Linked DNA regions of Homo sapiens: regions 2 and 3 are each linked to region 1. Evidence: promoter capture Hi-C in human tissues and cell types (Jung and others, 2019). All regions are on one chromosome and are shown on one strand. Each heading gives the region's core, a stretch centred on a gene start or on the middle of the fragment in contact. The rest is flanking DNA. Distances are from core to core; before and after follow the strand shown.

What was found. The method cuts DNA at HindIII sites, captures the fragments that hold promoters and counts their contacts. A contact is called where the count stands out against the background at its distance.
Region 2: a fragment that was not itself captured here is called in contact with the fragment with the promoter of ZCCHC14 in region 1 in 1 of the 25 tissues and cell types used here (dorsolateral prefrontal cortex).
Region 3: the fragment with the promoter of C16orf95 here is called in contact with the fragment with the promoter of ZCCHC14 in region 1 in 1 of the 25 tissues and cell types used here (dorsolateral prefrontal cortex).

Annotation. Positions count from the first base shown.
Region 1 is chr16:87,490,542-87,495,345 of GRCh38, reverse strand. It overlaps ZCCHC14 (zinc finger CCHC-type containing 14), which reads left to right and starts at 2,322. Exons shown (of 13, transcript NM_015144.3): 1 at 2,322-3,677. The coding sequence starts at 3,108. It overlaps ZCCHC14-DT (ZCCHC14 divergent transcript), which reads right to left and starts at 1,159. Exons shown (of 4, transcript NR_110943.1): 1 at 1,111-1,159. RefSeq lists a silencer at 2,204-2,383. The HindIII fragment of the contact is 17,996 bases long and covers 1-4,804 here.
Region 2 is chr16:87,724,853-87,729,656 of GRCh38, reverse strand. KLHDC4 (kelch domain containing 4) reads left to right here. Exons shown (of 12, transcript NM_017566.4): 7 at 2,733-2,892. Among named protein-coding and RNA genes, the nearest start is that of KLHDC4, 39 kb to the left of the region's middle. RefSeq lists enhancers at 4,241-4,330, 3,963-4,804. The HindIII fragment of the contact is 6,423 bases long and covers 1-4,804 here.
Region 3 is chr16:87,315,257-87,320,060 of GRCh38, reverse strand. It overlaps C16orf95 (chromosome 16 open reading frame 95), which reads left to right and starts at 2,669. Exons shown (of 7, transcript NM_001195124.3): 1 at 2,669-2,970; 2 at 4,238-4,289. The coding sequence starts at 2,819. It overlaps C16orf95-DT (C16orf95 divergent transcript), which reads right to left and starts at 2,552. Exons shown (of 2, transcript NR_135180.1): 1 at 2,339-2,552; 2 at 2,018-2,204. RefSeq lists enhancers at 2,642-3,091, 4,348-4,804. The HindIII fragment of the contact is 14,678 bases long and covers 1-4,804 here.

The DNA of each region.
Region 1 (4,804 bases), core at 1,073-3,572:
ATCACAAAGAGCACGCAAGAAGGACCAAAAAGGCAGCGGGAAGTGGGGAGGACCTTGATCCAAGGACTTCCACAGCTCAGGCCTCCCTTGTTCCAGCCAGCAAGGGCTTTCCATGAGCACCTTTGACTTCCACTGCTAGCCAGGATGACGGGTTCCTGGCTGTCTTCTACAGATGAGGAAACTGAGGCTCAGAGGCCTCTGAATGCATAGCCAAGTTCACACAGTCAGCCACAGCTGGGACTGGAGCTCACTTGGTACCAAAGCCTGGGGGTTTCACAGCCAGCTCGGCTGGATTGAAGAAGCCCCACCCCCACCCCCAGCACTAATGAGGTTCCAAGATCTTTCTCCAAGGAGCTTGCTTTATCAATAAGAAATGAATCTTTTGTTTTGTTTTGTTTTTGAGACAGAGTCTTACGCTGTCACCCAGGCTGGAGTGCAGTGGCGGGATCCCCATTCACCGCAACCTCCCTTTCCCGGGCTCGGGCAATCCTTCCACTGCAGTCTCCCAAGTACCTGGGACTACAGGCACATGCCACCACATCTGGCTAATTTTTGTAGTTTTTGTAGAGATGGGATTTCGCCATGTTGCCCAGGCTGGTCTCGAACTCCTGGGCTCAAGGGATCTACCCTCGGCCTCCCAAAGTACTGGGATTACAGATGTGAGCCTCTGAGCCCAGCCAAACTGTCTTGATGTTCACGTTCTTTCACTACCTTAGATTATGAATTTTGGAATGTGGCCAGTTCCCTGGAATCACATTAAGAAGTGAGGTCCAGGACAACGACGATTAATTTAATTATTAATAGAAATCAGCCTAGACCTGGGAAATAAGATGAGGAGACCCAACTGTCCCCAGCCTTGCCCTTGTGCCCATGTGGGAGGCCATCCTGACTCCATTTAGATTTTTGCTTCTTCCTACACTGACAAAGAACACTGGGGCAGCTCCAGGGAAATGTGCCCAAGGTGTGGAGGGGGCTGGGGGAGTGGAGAGCAATTTTTTTTGTTCCCAACCATGCCTTTCTGCAATCTCTGTTCATCCTCGAAGACCTAAGACTGGAGAATGTGGGGTTTGTTTGTTTTGGAGCGACTGGGGCGGGGAGGGGGGGTCTCACCATGTTGCCCAGGTTGGTCTTAAACTCTTGGCCTCAAGCGATCCTCCTGCCTCGGTCTACCCAGTAGCTGGAACCACAGGCGTGCCAGATTCGGCTGAAGAGTTTTGTTAGGAAGTTTTCAGCACCTTGGACCATATCCTGAAAAAGTTCATTCATTGATTTAACCAATCTCTAGTGTGCACTGCCCAGAACCAGAGTGTAAGCTCCACAGGGTAGGGAGGGCGCCAGCTTTGCTCTCAGCTGCCCCCGGGCGCTTGGGACCTGGAACCCATGAATGAACAGACCCCGTTCTAGATCAACAGACATTCAAAGCAGCGCTCTAGGGGAAGGGCAGGGGAGGAATGAGCGTCCAGCCCCCGCGGCTCTACTTCTATGCCTGTGTGTAAGTGGTGGGATTTAAAGGTGGTTGGGTGCACCGGCCCTTCCCCCACCTGCAATCCGGTGCCAATGCAAGTGCCAGGGGAGGGTGGCGTTTCTGTTTACTTCCAGCCAGGTCAGCTCCCTTGCCCCCTCCCCTGTGTTTGCATTTTCTGCGTTTGGCGAGCTGGTGAAGTAGCCGCGGAAAGAAGGCGGATTTAAAGGCTCCATTTGGACGAGGCTTTTGGAGAAAGCTTGCACCTCCCATCACACCCCCAGGGCAAGTCAGCCGCCTCAAAAGTGCCGGTGCCGGCCCTCTGTGAGCTCAACACCTTCGCACAAACCTCGGGGGCGGTTATTATTACCCTCTTTTTCCCGGGGAGGCGCCTGGGGCTCAGAGAGGCCAAGTGACTCGCCCAAGGTCACACAGCTTTGCAGTGGCCGACCCGGGATTGGAACCCGGGGCTCCGGACCCCGCGGCGGCCGTTTCTCGAAGATACCCACTACCTCCCTCTTACACCGCTCAAAAATAAAGCAGGAAGGCCGAACGCCCCGTTTTCGCCGAAAAACAATGCTCCACGCAAATTTGCGGGAACAAAAGCAACCAGAAATCCAGCCCGGGTTTTCCGCCTCTCCGATTCCGCGGACCAATCGCGTCTTGACGGCCGCCGAGGGACGGGAGGCGGTGGCCCCAACATGATCGACAGCCCCCAGGGAGGCGTGGCCGCGGAACGGGCGAATGGGATTGGGGACCCGGCACAATCACGGGCCGAGAACGGGCCGCCTGAGCCAATCAGTGGGGGGGGGACGGGCCCGGCAGGCCCGGGCTGTCGCGAGAGGCGGCCACCCCGCCCACTTCTGCTGATCCCGGCCGCCCGTCAGCCGCGAGCGCGACGATCCCTCCGCTCCTCGGCCGGCGCCTCCTCCGCCGTCGCCGTCGCCGTCGCCGTCGCCGTCGCCGCCGCCGCCGCGCTCGGGCCCGGATCCGTCCGCCGCGCGGGAGCAGCAAGGCCGGCAAGTCCCGGCCGGATCCCTCCGCGCCTCCCGCCGCGCGTCCCTCCCCCTCCAGCGTCCGTTTCGCGGCCGCGGCCCCCAGCGCTCCCCAGGCGGCGACGCCGCGCCCGCGGCCCGGGGTAACGGCCGGCCTGGGCGGAGGCGCGGGCGGCGGCGACGGCATGGCCGGGGCGGCTCCGTCGGGGGGCGGCCCGCAGTGACAGACCCTGCGGCGCGGGGGGAGATGGGGGCGGCCGCCTCCCGGGCGACGACGACGACGACGACGAGGAGCAGCCGCCGCCGCCGCCGCGCACCGGCCGCCGCTGGGCACGGGCGCGGGGAAGGCGCCTCCCCGTGAGCGGGGGGCCCGAGGCCGCTCGCCGCCCCCGGCCGCCCCGGCCGCCCCGGGCCCCCCCGGCGCCCCGCGCGCGCCCGCCCGCCGGCCCCTGACGGGAGCCTTGCCCGGCCCCGGTCCCCGCCCCCGCCCCGGCGCCCGCCCGGCCCGCGGCGCCCGCGCGCCCTCGCCCGGACCCGGCCCCGGCCCGCGCGTCCCCGGTCCCGGCGCGCCCCGGCCGCGGCCCCCGGCGCCCCCCGGCCGCCCCCGCGCGGTCCCCGGCCCCGGGTCGCGGCGCGGCGCGGGCGGCAGCATGGTGGAGAAGCGCTGCCCGCTGCAGAGGGACGGCGTGTACCGCTGGTTCTCGGAGCTGCCGTCGCCGCAGCGCGTGGAGTTCCTGTGCGGCCTGCTGGACCTGTGCATCCCGCTCGAGCTTCGCTTCCTCGGCTCGTGCCTGGAGGACCTGGCCCGCAAGGACTACCACTCGCTGCGCGACTCGGAGATCAAGGCCAACAACCCGGCCGACCTGGGCAGCCTCACCAACCTGACGGACGAGGTGGTGCGCAGCAAGCTGCTGGTGTCGCTGGCGCTGCTGGGCTCGGAGCAGCGCGAGGCGGCGGGCGTGCTCTACCGCACGCTCACGCACATCGACTCCATCATCCACAACTACGGGCTGCAGCTTAACGAGGGCCGCACGGGCGATGAGTTCCTGCTGCTGTTCACCATGGCCTCCAACCACCCGGCCTTCAGCTTCCACCAGAAGCAGGTGCTGCGCCAGGAGCTCACGCAGATCCAGAGCAGCCTGAACGGCGGCGGGGGCCACGGCGGCAAGGGCGCGCCCGGGCCGGGCGGCGCGCTGCCCACTTGCCCAGCCTGCCACAAGGTGCGTGCCCGCCCCGAGCTCTGCCCTGTACCCCAAGTCTGCATCCCCAACTCTGCACTCCAAGCCTCCAGCCTGCACCGCGACCCCCCGACCCACGCCTCCAGCCTGCACTGAGAGCTCCCACCCAGGTCTCCAACCTGCACCACGAGCCCCCAGCCCGTATCCCAAGCCCCATCCTAAGCCTCTATGTCGCACCCCAAATGTGTGCCCCACCTCTCCAAGCCTCCACCGTACATCCCAAGCCTCCGCCGTACATCCCAAGCCTCCGCCGTACATCCCAAGCCCCCATCCTAAGCCCGCACTCCTCACCCTAAGTCTGCACTTTAAGCCCCAAGACCGCACCGCGGCCCTGAGCCCACACCCTCAGTCCCCTCTGCGTGCCCCAAAGCCTCCACACCTCCGCCTCGCGCCCCTTGGGCAGGAGCGGCTGCAGGGGCCCTGGGTCCGAGGATCCGCGGGAGCGGTGCGGGAGACGTCCGCGGTCAGAGCTCACAGTCCCAGGTGCCCTCCTTTCACTTAGCCGGCTGCAAACGCGATAAGGCCTTTGTCCCCTTAATGGGGCCCTTGGGTGACAGATAACACACATTGCGGCGCCTTGGTTTCCCCAAATCTGGTATTTATTACCAGAAAAGGAAGGAGCCGTGGCCACGCCAGAAGCCGCCGGTGAGGTGAACATTGCAAGGCGCTGGGGCTTCCCCGTCTGAGCCGCTCCCTCCACACAGGTGGAGGCCCTGCTTGGGGCCTGTGTCGCTGGGGGCCTGGGCGCGGGACATGGCTGTCCGTGTGAGCTCATTTATGGACACGTGCATGCTGTATGATGTACGCGTGTGTCGCATGTGGGCATGTATATGTGCACACGTGTGTATGAATGTGCACATGCTTGTGAACGTTGTGTGTGATCGTTTTTAAGAGCCGGGCTACCTGTAACAGACAGAAAAAGACTCCCAGAGCCTTAAATGCCCGTGAAACCTATTTATTGGCGACCCTTAGAAACAAAACCCAGGCTGACTTTGAGTGGGAGGGCACCGATGCCTTAAGGAATGTTAGGTTAGGTTAAAGATCTCCGGTCTCCAAATTGAACCGGAAGGGCGTCCTGGCCATCCACTTAGCGATGTGAACTTTTGTCT
Region 2 (4,804 bases), core at 1,360-3,859, 230 kb before region 1:
CATGGCTGCCCAGGGTGAGCTGCGGGCTCTCTCATTGTTTTAGGCCTGTTATCTGCTCACGTTATCTTCTTGAGCTTACTTAGTTCAGTCCAGAAAAGCAAGACACAGGGGAGCTGGTTATCCCTGTTTCTGTCATAAGTGCAGTTGTGTTCTGAGTGAAGTGTCGCAGACTCTGCAACCCTGGTGAAGGTCATCTTTGAAGGCTCTCTGCTGGCATCGTGGTGTCAGAGACAGTGGCTGTCTGTATCTCCGGGGCCTCATTTGAAGCCCTCTTTCTCTACTGGTCCCTCAGGAACCAGCATGGCAATTGATTGATGTGAAGGTGCCACTCACACCTTTGTCACATGGTGAGTCCAGTCGCACCCTCTCGTGATTCTTGATCCATCGTGATAAGTCTGTACAGCCTCCCAGAGTGCTGGGATTACAGGCGTAAGCCACCGCGCCCAGCCGGGTTTCAGATTTTCTTCACTGATATAGTCTCATTAATTTTGTGAATTCGGGGGGAAAAGGGATCCAAATTCTTAAATACTTTTCAAGGGGGAAAGATTTAAAAATGTAATTCAAACTAAAAAGTATTTAAGGCTGGGTACAGTGGCTCACATGTGTAATCTCAGCACTTTGGGAGGCTGAGGTGGGTGGATCACTTGAGGCCAGAAGTTTGAGACCAGCCTGGCCAACATGGCAAAAACTCATCTCTACTAAAAAATACAAAAAATTAGCCAGGTGTGGTGGTGCACACCTTTAATCCCAGGCACTCGGGAGGCTGATACAAGAGAATCGCTTGAACTGGGGAGGCGGATGTTGAAGTGAGCCGCATGCCCAGCTAATTTTTGTATTTTTAGTAGAGACGGGGTTTCACTATGTTCGCCAGGCTGGTCTCGAACTCCTGACCTCATGATCCACATGCCTCGGCCTCCCAAAGTGCTGTGATTATAGGCTTGAGCCCCCGCGCCTAGCCTTATGTTCATTCTTAAAATTTATTTTAAAACAAATAATTGTCAGAATGCACACATAAGTTTGTCAGAGCATTAATTCATTACCTACTATGTGTAGGACAGTGAGATTGTACAGCCCCTTCCTCCTTTGAACTTACAGGTTATAAATCAAATCATGCTTCATGTTTGTTTTAACTTGCAACCATTTTAAAATCAGAACTTTTTTCAAAGCTGTTGTTATCTTGTTTAAAATTATTCAAATACCAACTTGGGAGTTTTCCTTAAACTCTATTCTGCATTTATAGAGAAAATATTCTGTATTTATCTTACGTGCAAAGTAGAATCTTTGTACTAAAAATCTGCGACGTGAAATCTGAAAAAAACAGTGGTCTGTAGCAGTCTTTTAAAGATTACACGCTTCCACATTTCCACATTCCTCAGATTCTATCTATATTAAGAGCCATCGTCCTGCGAAGGATGTGGTCAGTCTGAGTTGCAGTCAGCAAGGTCAGGTTATCTTTTCTTTCTTCTTTTTTTGAGACAGATTCTCACTCGATCGCCCAGGCTGGAGTGCAGTGGCGTGATCAGCTCACTGTAGCCTCCACCTCGTAGGTTCAAACTATTCTCGTGCCTCAGCCTCCTGAGTAGCTGGGATTATAGGCACCCGCCCCCATGCTTGGCTAATTTTTTGTGTTTTTAGTAGAGACAAGGTTTCACCATATTGTCCAGGCTGTTTTTGAACTCCTCGCCTCAAGTGATCTACCTGCCTGAGACTCCCAAAGTGCTGGGATTGCAGGTGTGAGCCACTGTGCCCAGGCTGTTTATCTTAAGACCAGATGTGGCAGCTGGTGCTGGGTAAACGCCCTGTGACTTTTCCTGCTTCACACAAAACAGGAACAAACAGGAGAAAACCGGGCACTTGAGACTTGGGCTAGAGCTGCTTGCTCTTCCATGCTTTCCTTAAAAAATGAGTTTGGCTCTCCTTTTTGAGTAGCTGGAGAGCAGCCCCTTACGCTTTCACGATAATTGTGTCAAAGTTCCACATTAGGACAGGACTTTCTGGGTGCGCCTCCGAGTCTCCCCATGCCTCCAGCAAAGCTGCCACTTCCCTGTTCAGCCCAGTCTGCGTGCTGGGTCCGGCAGGCACTGAGCAGGGCAAGGCTGCGGGGCCTCCTTGCCGCGCTGTGATTTCGGGCACAGAGGGTCGGCTTCTGTGGTCTTCAGTTTCCCTGGAGCGCCCAGTCCCCTCGCTCACCCCTCCAGTCCACTGTGGGGCCTTACCACCCTTGCTGCCAGGCTGCTCACACCTCCGTTCTGATCATCCCTTTGGAGGCGCCATTCACTGCTGCCCTTACGGTTGCACACCTAATAACCTAATGGAATTGTCTCTGATTGTGTTAACTGTGTAAGAAAACGCAGTATGGCTTTCAGATTAAATTCCTCTGCCTCTGTGGGCCAGCATTATTTCCGGTTTTCAAATGCAAACTCATACGTGCTTGTGGTCCTTTCATATCAATTCAAACTTGAATTAAACAGGTGAAAATGTTGCCCTGTCTCCAGGTAGATTGCGTCAAGATTGAGTTTGAGGAGACCTGACTGGCGTCTCTGGCTCGTTGCAGGGAAAGCGGCCACGTTTCTGTGTTGATTGTTGTGTTGGTGTAAGAGCAGAGGAGAAAAATGGTTTGAGTTTTTCCCCAAACAGTAGGAAATTTACCTTTAATTTAAATCAGTTCAGTTTTTAATGTCAGGGCTTTTCCCAATGTTACGGACCCTGACAGCTGCTGTTCTTCTAACCAGGGATTACATCTACTACAACGACGTGTATGCCTTTAATCTGGACACCTTCACATGGAGCAAGCTGTCCCCGTCAGGGACGGGGCCCACACCCAGATCAGGCTGCCAGATGTCCGTCACTCCCCAGGGCGGCATCGTCGTCTATGGGGGCTACTCGAAACAGGTAAGGCGGGGGGTGGGGAAACAGGCAAGGCGTGGGACCGGGAAACAGGCGAGGCGCGGGGTGGGGAGACGGGCGAGGCGCGGGGTGGGGAGACGGGCGAGGCGCGGCGTGGGGAGACGGGCGAGGCGCGGCGTGGGGAGACGGGCGAGGCGCGGCGTGGGGAGACGGGCGAGGCGCGGCGTGGGGAGACGGGCGAGGCGCGGCGTGGGGAGACGGGCGAGGCGCGGCGTGGGGAGACGGGCGAGGCGCGGCGTGGGGAGACGGGCGAGGCGCGGGGTGGGGAGACGGGCGAGGCGCGGCGTGGGGAGACGGGCGAGGCGCGGCGTGGGGAGACGGGCGAGGCGCGGCGTGGGGAGACGGGCGAGGCGCGGCGTGGGGAGACGGGCGAGGCGCGGCGTGGGGAGACGGGCGAGGCGCGGCGTGGGGAGACGGGCGAGGCGCGGCGTGGGGAGACGGGCGAGGCGCGGCGTGGGGAGACGGGCGAGGCGCGGCGTGGGGAGACGGGCCGAGGCGCGGCGTGGGGAGACGGGCGAGGCGCGGCGTGGGGAGACGGGCGAGGCGCGGGGTGGGGAGACGGGTGAGTTGCGGCGTGGGAAAATAGGCGCTGCTGTCTGTGGTCTCTTCAGTTTCATGAACATTGAAGCTTTCACATGGGATTACTCATTGGTTGAATATAAACAGTTCTTTGTATAGAATTAGAAATAGAGATAGTGTTAATCGGCTCCTCTGTGAACTTGGTGCCGTGTTAGGGCCCTGTTCTGTTCTCCACACCCCTGTCAGCAGTGCAGTGTGAGCGATTCTGTGTTCTGAGGGTCTCCTTCCTGCACCATGGACGCTCACTACTGTGTAGTAGTCTCTGTGGAATGAAATTCTCCTCGCTCCTGTTAACGGGCTTGTTTCTTTGGTAACCTGAGAACAGTGCTGACAGGAATGTTCTCGCGCCCACCCCGGAGCCTCCTGCTCTTGGGGCGTGTGCTCTGCACGTGTACTGGCATCTGCTCGTGGAGTGTGTGCTCCTCACATGTGCCTGCTGCTCGTGGGGCGTGTGCTTCACAGAGGCGGCTGGCACAGGCTCTGTCCTCGGAACTCAAGTGTTCCTGTTGCTTCACTCCCATTTCACACTCTGCCAACCTTTACATTTCTGTGAATCTGAGAGGTATGAAGTAGTATCTCACTGTAGGGGTTTAAAAAATCCTTTGTATTTTGAAAATTTTCAACCACAGCTAACTTTTGAAAGAATTTTACGGGGAACACCTGTATACTCCTCCTAGATCCTGCTATTAAGATTTTGCTATGCTTAGGCTGGGCGCGGTGGCTCACGCCTGTAATCCCAGCACTTTGGGAGGCCGAGGCGGGCGGCTCACGAGGTCAAGAGATCGAGACCATCCTGGCTAACACTGTGAAACCCCGTCTCTACTAAAAATACAAAAAATTAGCCGGGCGTGGTGGCGGGCGCCTGTAGTCGGTGGTAATTTCCTATGCGTCATTGACCCACAGTGAGGGGACACATTTTTACAAGTGCGGGCACCGTGTGACTCACACCCTGATCCTGCCGTGCCCTTCCCACTCGGCCCCGCTGCCCACCCTCCCCTCCGCCCAGAGGTGACGCTGCTCTGATTTTCCCACCGTAATAGATCTGCCTGTCCTGGAGCTTCTGCTAAACAAGTCACCCAGATGTGTGGGGCCAGTCTTCTTTCCCTCAGCTTTTCAGACCCACGTGTTGCATGTTTCTGTTCATTGCTGCTTCGTGCTGAAGTGTTCCATTATATGACTGTCCCACAGTTTGTGGTTCTGTTTTTCGTTGGACACCTGGGCTGTTTCCGTTCTTCAGAAGACACAGCCTTTGGAAGCAGCTGTGACTGAAGCTGCTATGAGCACGTCCATAATAATCTTTTGAGTGGCTGCGTGTGTT
Region 3 (4,804 bases), core at 1,420-3,919, 180 kb after region 1:
CCAGGCTGGGGTGCATGACTTGGTTAGCTGAGCACAGGATAAATGCAAGCCTCACTTGTGTTCTTGGCAAGGGACCCTTGATTAGTGAAGAAACCACACAACTGTGCCCAGGAACCCTGCTTCTGTCTGGGTATAGGCTGCCTGGGGAGGTGTGATCTGGGAGGAACCTGCAACTCTCTCCCTGGGATCAAGGAGGTTCTGTGGGTTTGGCTTGGGTACCCATTACCTTGGGTTCACAAAGATCTCATTCTGCTCCTCTTTCCCTCTACTTGGGGGCTTTGGAAACAAAAGCCTAAAACAGGCAGTGGTAGTGGCCAAACTTCCAGCCTGAAGCACACTCACGTCACAAACTGACGTGTGCTGGACTCTGTCTGGCTTTTTTTTTTTTTTTCCTTGAGACAGGGTCTGGCCCTGTCACCCGGGCTGGATGGAATCATGGCTCATTACATCCTCAACCCCCTGGGCTTAAGTGATCCTCCCACCTCAAACTCCCAAGTAGCTGGGACCACAGGCATGTGCCACCATGCCTAATTTTTAAATTTTTTGCAGAGATGAGGTCTCACTACGTTGCCAAGGCTGGTCTCAAACTCCTGGGCTCAAGAGATCTTCCCACCTTGGCCTCCCAAAGTGCTGGGATTACAGATGTGAGCTACCATGACAGTCCCTGGTTTTTGAGCACCTTTCATGCTCTTTCATATTTGATCTTCTGAAACTTCCTTGGGATTGGTTCTATGGTTATCATTATTTTAGACATAAAACTGAAGCTCAGAAAAGTTAGGCAACTTGTCTGATACCTGTCTCTGATAAGAGGCAGAGCAAGGATTGGGATCTAGGCCTTGTTACTCAGAGCACAGGGGCAGGGTGGCTGGAGTTTCCTTCACATCCCCAGCCTGTGTCATGATGGATTTGCTTTCCTGGTTTTGAACATCACACACATGGAATTGTCTGTACATTCTGGGGTCTGACTTCATTGTACACTTCATCCACATTGTTGTGGGTTGTGGTTGTGTGCCCATTTCCATTGTTGTACAGAATTTCCTCTCTGTGAACATGCCATACTTTCTTTTTAAAATCTTTTTTTCCTATGGATGGACATCTGGATCATTTCCAGTTTGGGGCCATCAGGAAGAAAGCTGCTGTGGGTAGTTTTGTTCATGTCTTCTGGTACACATAAGCTCTCATTTCTCTTGGGTGAGTTGAGGAATTAGTTGGTCATCAGGTATTCATATGTTTAGGTTTTGTAAATACTACCAGTTTGCCAATGTGGTTTTATCAATTTCATGAGCCATGTATGAGGGTTCCAGCTGTGACATCCTCGACAAACTAGGTATTGTCAGTCCTTTTAATTTTAGCCATTCTTGGGTGGGTGAGGGCAGTGAAGAGCTATTCTTGACATGGAATGACAAGACCTAGTGTGCCCGAGGTGAAGGCCTGAGCGTCCAGGGGAGCATGAGCCTGTCTTCTATGCCCTGCTGTGCTATGGCAGTGTTTCAGTGTGCTCTGGAGGAAAACAGCAGAGAAGCCGAGTGCTCCAAAGTGGGCAGAAATGAGACAGGCATAATGTGCTAGGCTAATGGTGACTCTTGGAATTTTGTCATTAGCTACAAAGAGGGCAGTGACATGATTTACACACACACACGGGGTGGGGTATCTGAAATATTAGGCAGCTAGTATGGCAGGGGCACCGTCTAATCAGCATGGATGCTGGCCAGGAGAGGACATGTGTATGTGCTGGCTGGAAACAGTCCTGCTCATAGGTCACGATCTTAATGATTAAATAACAAGGCAAGAAATCCGAGAGGGCAGTGCCTGGGAGCACCCTGTTTGCTCTGTGGCCAGAACGCAGCACACTGAAGTATTGCCCATCAGGGTAAGAGGTGCTCGTGATGGTTTGGGCAAATACAAATATTAATCCAGAGTATTTGAGTCTACATGAAAATACTGAAAAGTGAGGGAAGACCCAACCGTTTCCAAGAAATACAAATTGGAACTGGCGATAACTTAAAGAACATAATCAGAGAGGCAGAGGGCATTGGGTTTTACTAAAATATGAAGACATACGTCCTGTCTCCACGTCAGCAACTGCCCAAAGTACACGCGTTCCAGCGAAAAGAGCGGGTGGGGTGGGGAGGCTCAGGGCCAGCCAGAGCTTCGGTGCTTGCACGCCCAGGCCTCCGGGTGACGACTGCTTCCAATTCCGCGCCCTTTAAACCCCATGTTGTTAAAAAAAAAAAAAAAGAAAGAAAACCTATTTCTCTAAAAGTCACGATTCGAGCCCCACCTGAGGACGCAGCGATCCAGCGCCAACTCATTATCTGAGATAAAGGAGTGATTTTACCAGAAGCGCCTATGCAAGACGCAGGGCCCCGCGCGGGCTGCTCCCACCTCTTTCTCTCCTTGCAGGCTACCGAGACCCTGGCTGGGGCGGCCGGCGGCCCCTCCGGCCCATCCGTCGGAAATGATGAGTGGCTCCAGTGGCCGGGGTCCGCAGGACCTACCCCAGCGGGCATGGCGGGAGCCCCGCAGCCCCACACAGCCGCGCTCTGAGCCGCTGACCCCGCGTCTCTCGTGAGGGACCAATCAGCTGCCAGCTAAGGTCACATACCTAGAAGGCCAATTTTGATTGGCTGGGCGCGGGCTAGTCAGCGGGACGGGCGGGCGCGCGGGCGTTGTTGGGCTCCTCTGAGCGGTTGAGGTTGGGGCTGGGGTTGAGCTCGGGTTGGGTTCCTCCTGGGGCAGGAGGGAAAGGCGGGAGCCAGGGCGTCAGGGCCTGCGGACGATGTGTGTGTGAAAGGGCGCGTCAGCCATAAGAAGCCATATGCGTGCGAGCCGGTCCCCACCGTCCCCGCGGCGTTGTCACCATCATCATGAGGCCACTGGAGCAGCCTCAGGCGCTGCTGCCGGGGGGCCGGGCGCGGGGTGCGTCGGGCTCTGCAGGTTGGCACTCACACCCAGCGCGCAGGATGGCAGGCAAGTGAGTCCTGAATCCTGCCCGCGGCTACCCGACACCTCGCCTGTGAGTTCCCGGCCCGGCATTGCTCCATGACCTATGCACAGGCAGAACTCTTGACCGCCACCCACAGGAACCTCACTTACATTGGCTTAACAAAAACGCAACTGATGGTTCCACATAACTGAAAATGTCAGAAGTAGGCCTTCAGGCATGGATGTATCCAGGTACACATTGACCATGGTCCTGGAAGGTTTCTCTCCATCTCTCAGCTTCCTTCCTTTTTGCTGGCTTCCCTTGTGGAGGCAAGATGATCACCAGGACCTCCTGAGGTTTACATGTTATCAGATTATCAACCTCAACAAAAAGGAGATTCTTTTTTTTCCCAGCTTTCCAGGCTGGGCAGTGGTGAGTTTGGCCCACCTGAACTACAAGGACTGAGATGGCTGTGGCCCCCCCCCTCCCCACCAGGAATATAGCAGTGCTGTCATTACCAGAAGGGGCCTCGGATGCTGTGGAGGGCAGTGCCCCATCCTCTGTTTTCAAGCATTATCTGGGAGAGTTGATGCGTGAACCTATTACTCTCACAAAAATAGCAATAATAATAATGGTTATTATGACAATGAAACCCAAAAACACTTATATCGCTCTTACGGTTTCCACATACAAAGCACTTTGACCCACTACTGTCAGGGAAGCAGGGCTTTGCACCCACTGGAGACGCTTCATCCAGCCAACATTCAAGCAGTTTGTTGGGGAGTGGAACAGGGAAGAGCCACACAGGCTGTGTAACCCCAAGTGCTTTGTCATCCCAGAGACAAAGCACCCGGGTTTTTATAGTGGAAGGAGGTTCATTAATGGACAGTTTGACGATGTTTTTTCTTCAGTATTTCAGTAAGTTGAGGGTGTCTGACAGATCATCCTAGGTGATGTGATTGGCAGCTACATGTCTTGGAAAGTTCTCAGCAGGTTGGAATGCTCCTGTCTTTTCTGATGCTCCAAGCACAAGTGTAGCTGGAGTCAGCTTGAAGCTGGTTGGCTTGGGAATGCAGGATTCCATGACAGCCAGCCCCCAGGAGCCCCTAGACATTCACGCATGAGCTAGCACACGCCTGCTTCTGATGTCACCCTCTCACTCTTCTTGGGCTCAGAGGATCCCCCCATCCCCACCACCCGTGGGCTTTATTATTAAGAGTCAGTTCTGAGAAGACAGGTCCAGGCCTGTGCTCTAGCATCCCTGCCCCCTAGTTTACACAAACCCTAAGCTTTTCTGTTCTTCTCTTCTAGGAATAGCACATTTCAAACCTACAAGAAAGAAGTGTGCCTCCCCCGTCATTCGGTAAGGAAAGCAAATCCTCAGCCACTGGCCCTGACCCCAACATATCCCTGTGGGGTGAGGAGAGCAGGGAATGTGGGTCCAGAAGCTGCATCCCATGAGAGAATCCTCCAAACACAAAAGTGTGGTTGCAGGAGCTATCCCTGGGCCTCCAGAACACCTCCCAGGCCCTCACAACACCTCAGAGTTCAGGAGGCCACCTAATATACCTGCTCTGGGCATCAGCTTCTCCGTGTGCCCCTGGAGGTGATGGCAGCACCTCTCCTTCCTGCCTGAGGGTGTTGCGAAGGTCACATGGGATGGATGTGGAAGCTCTTGCACACCAGAGTGTGACAGATGGCCATAAAGGCAGCACTCATGTGCGCATAAGCTCTAGAGCTGCTTGTACATGCCCATTTTCAGAGGGGACCACGAGACTTGCTCATTGTAGCACAGCAGGAAGCAGCTGAGAATCCCAGCGCACCTGATTTGCAAGCTCCGGGGGATCCCCCTCCAAATGACCTTGGAGGCCTCAGGGC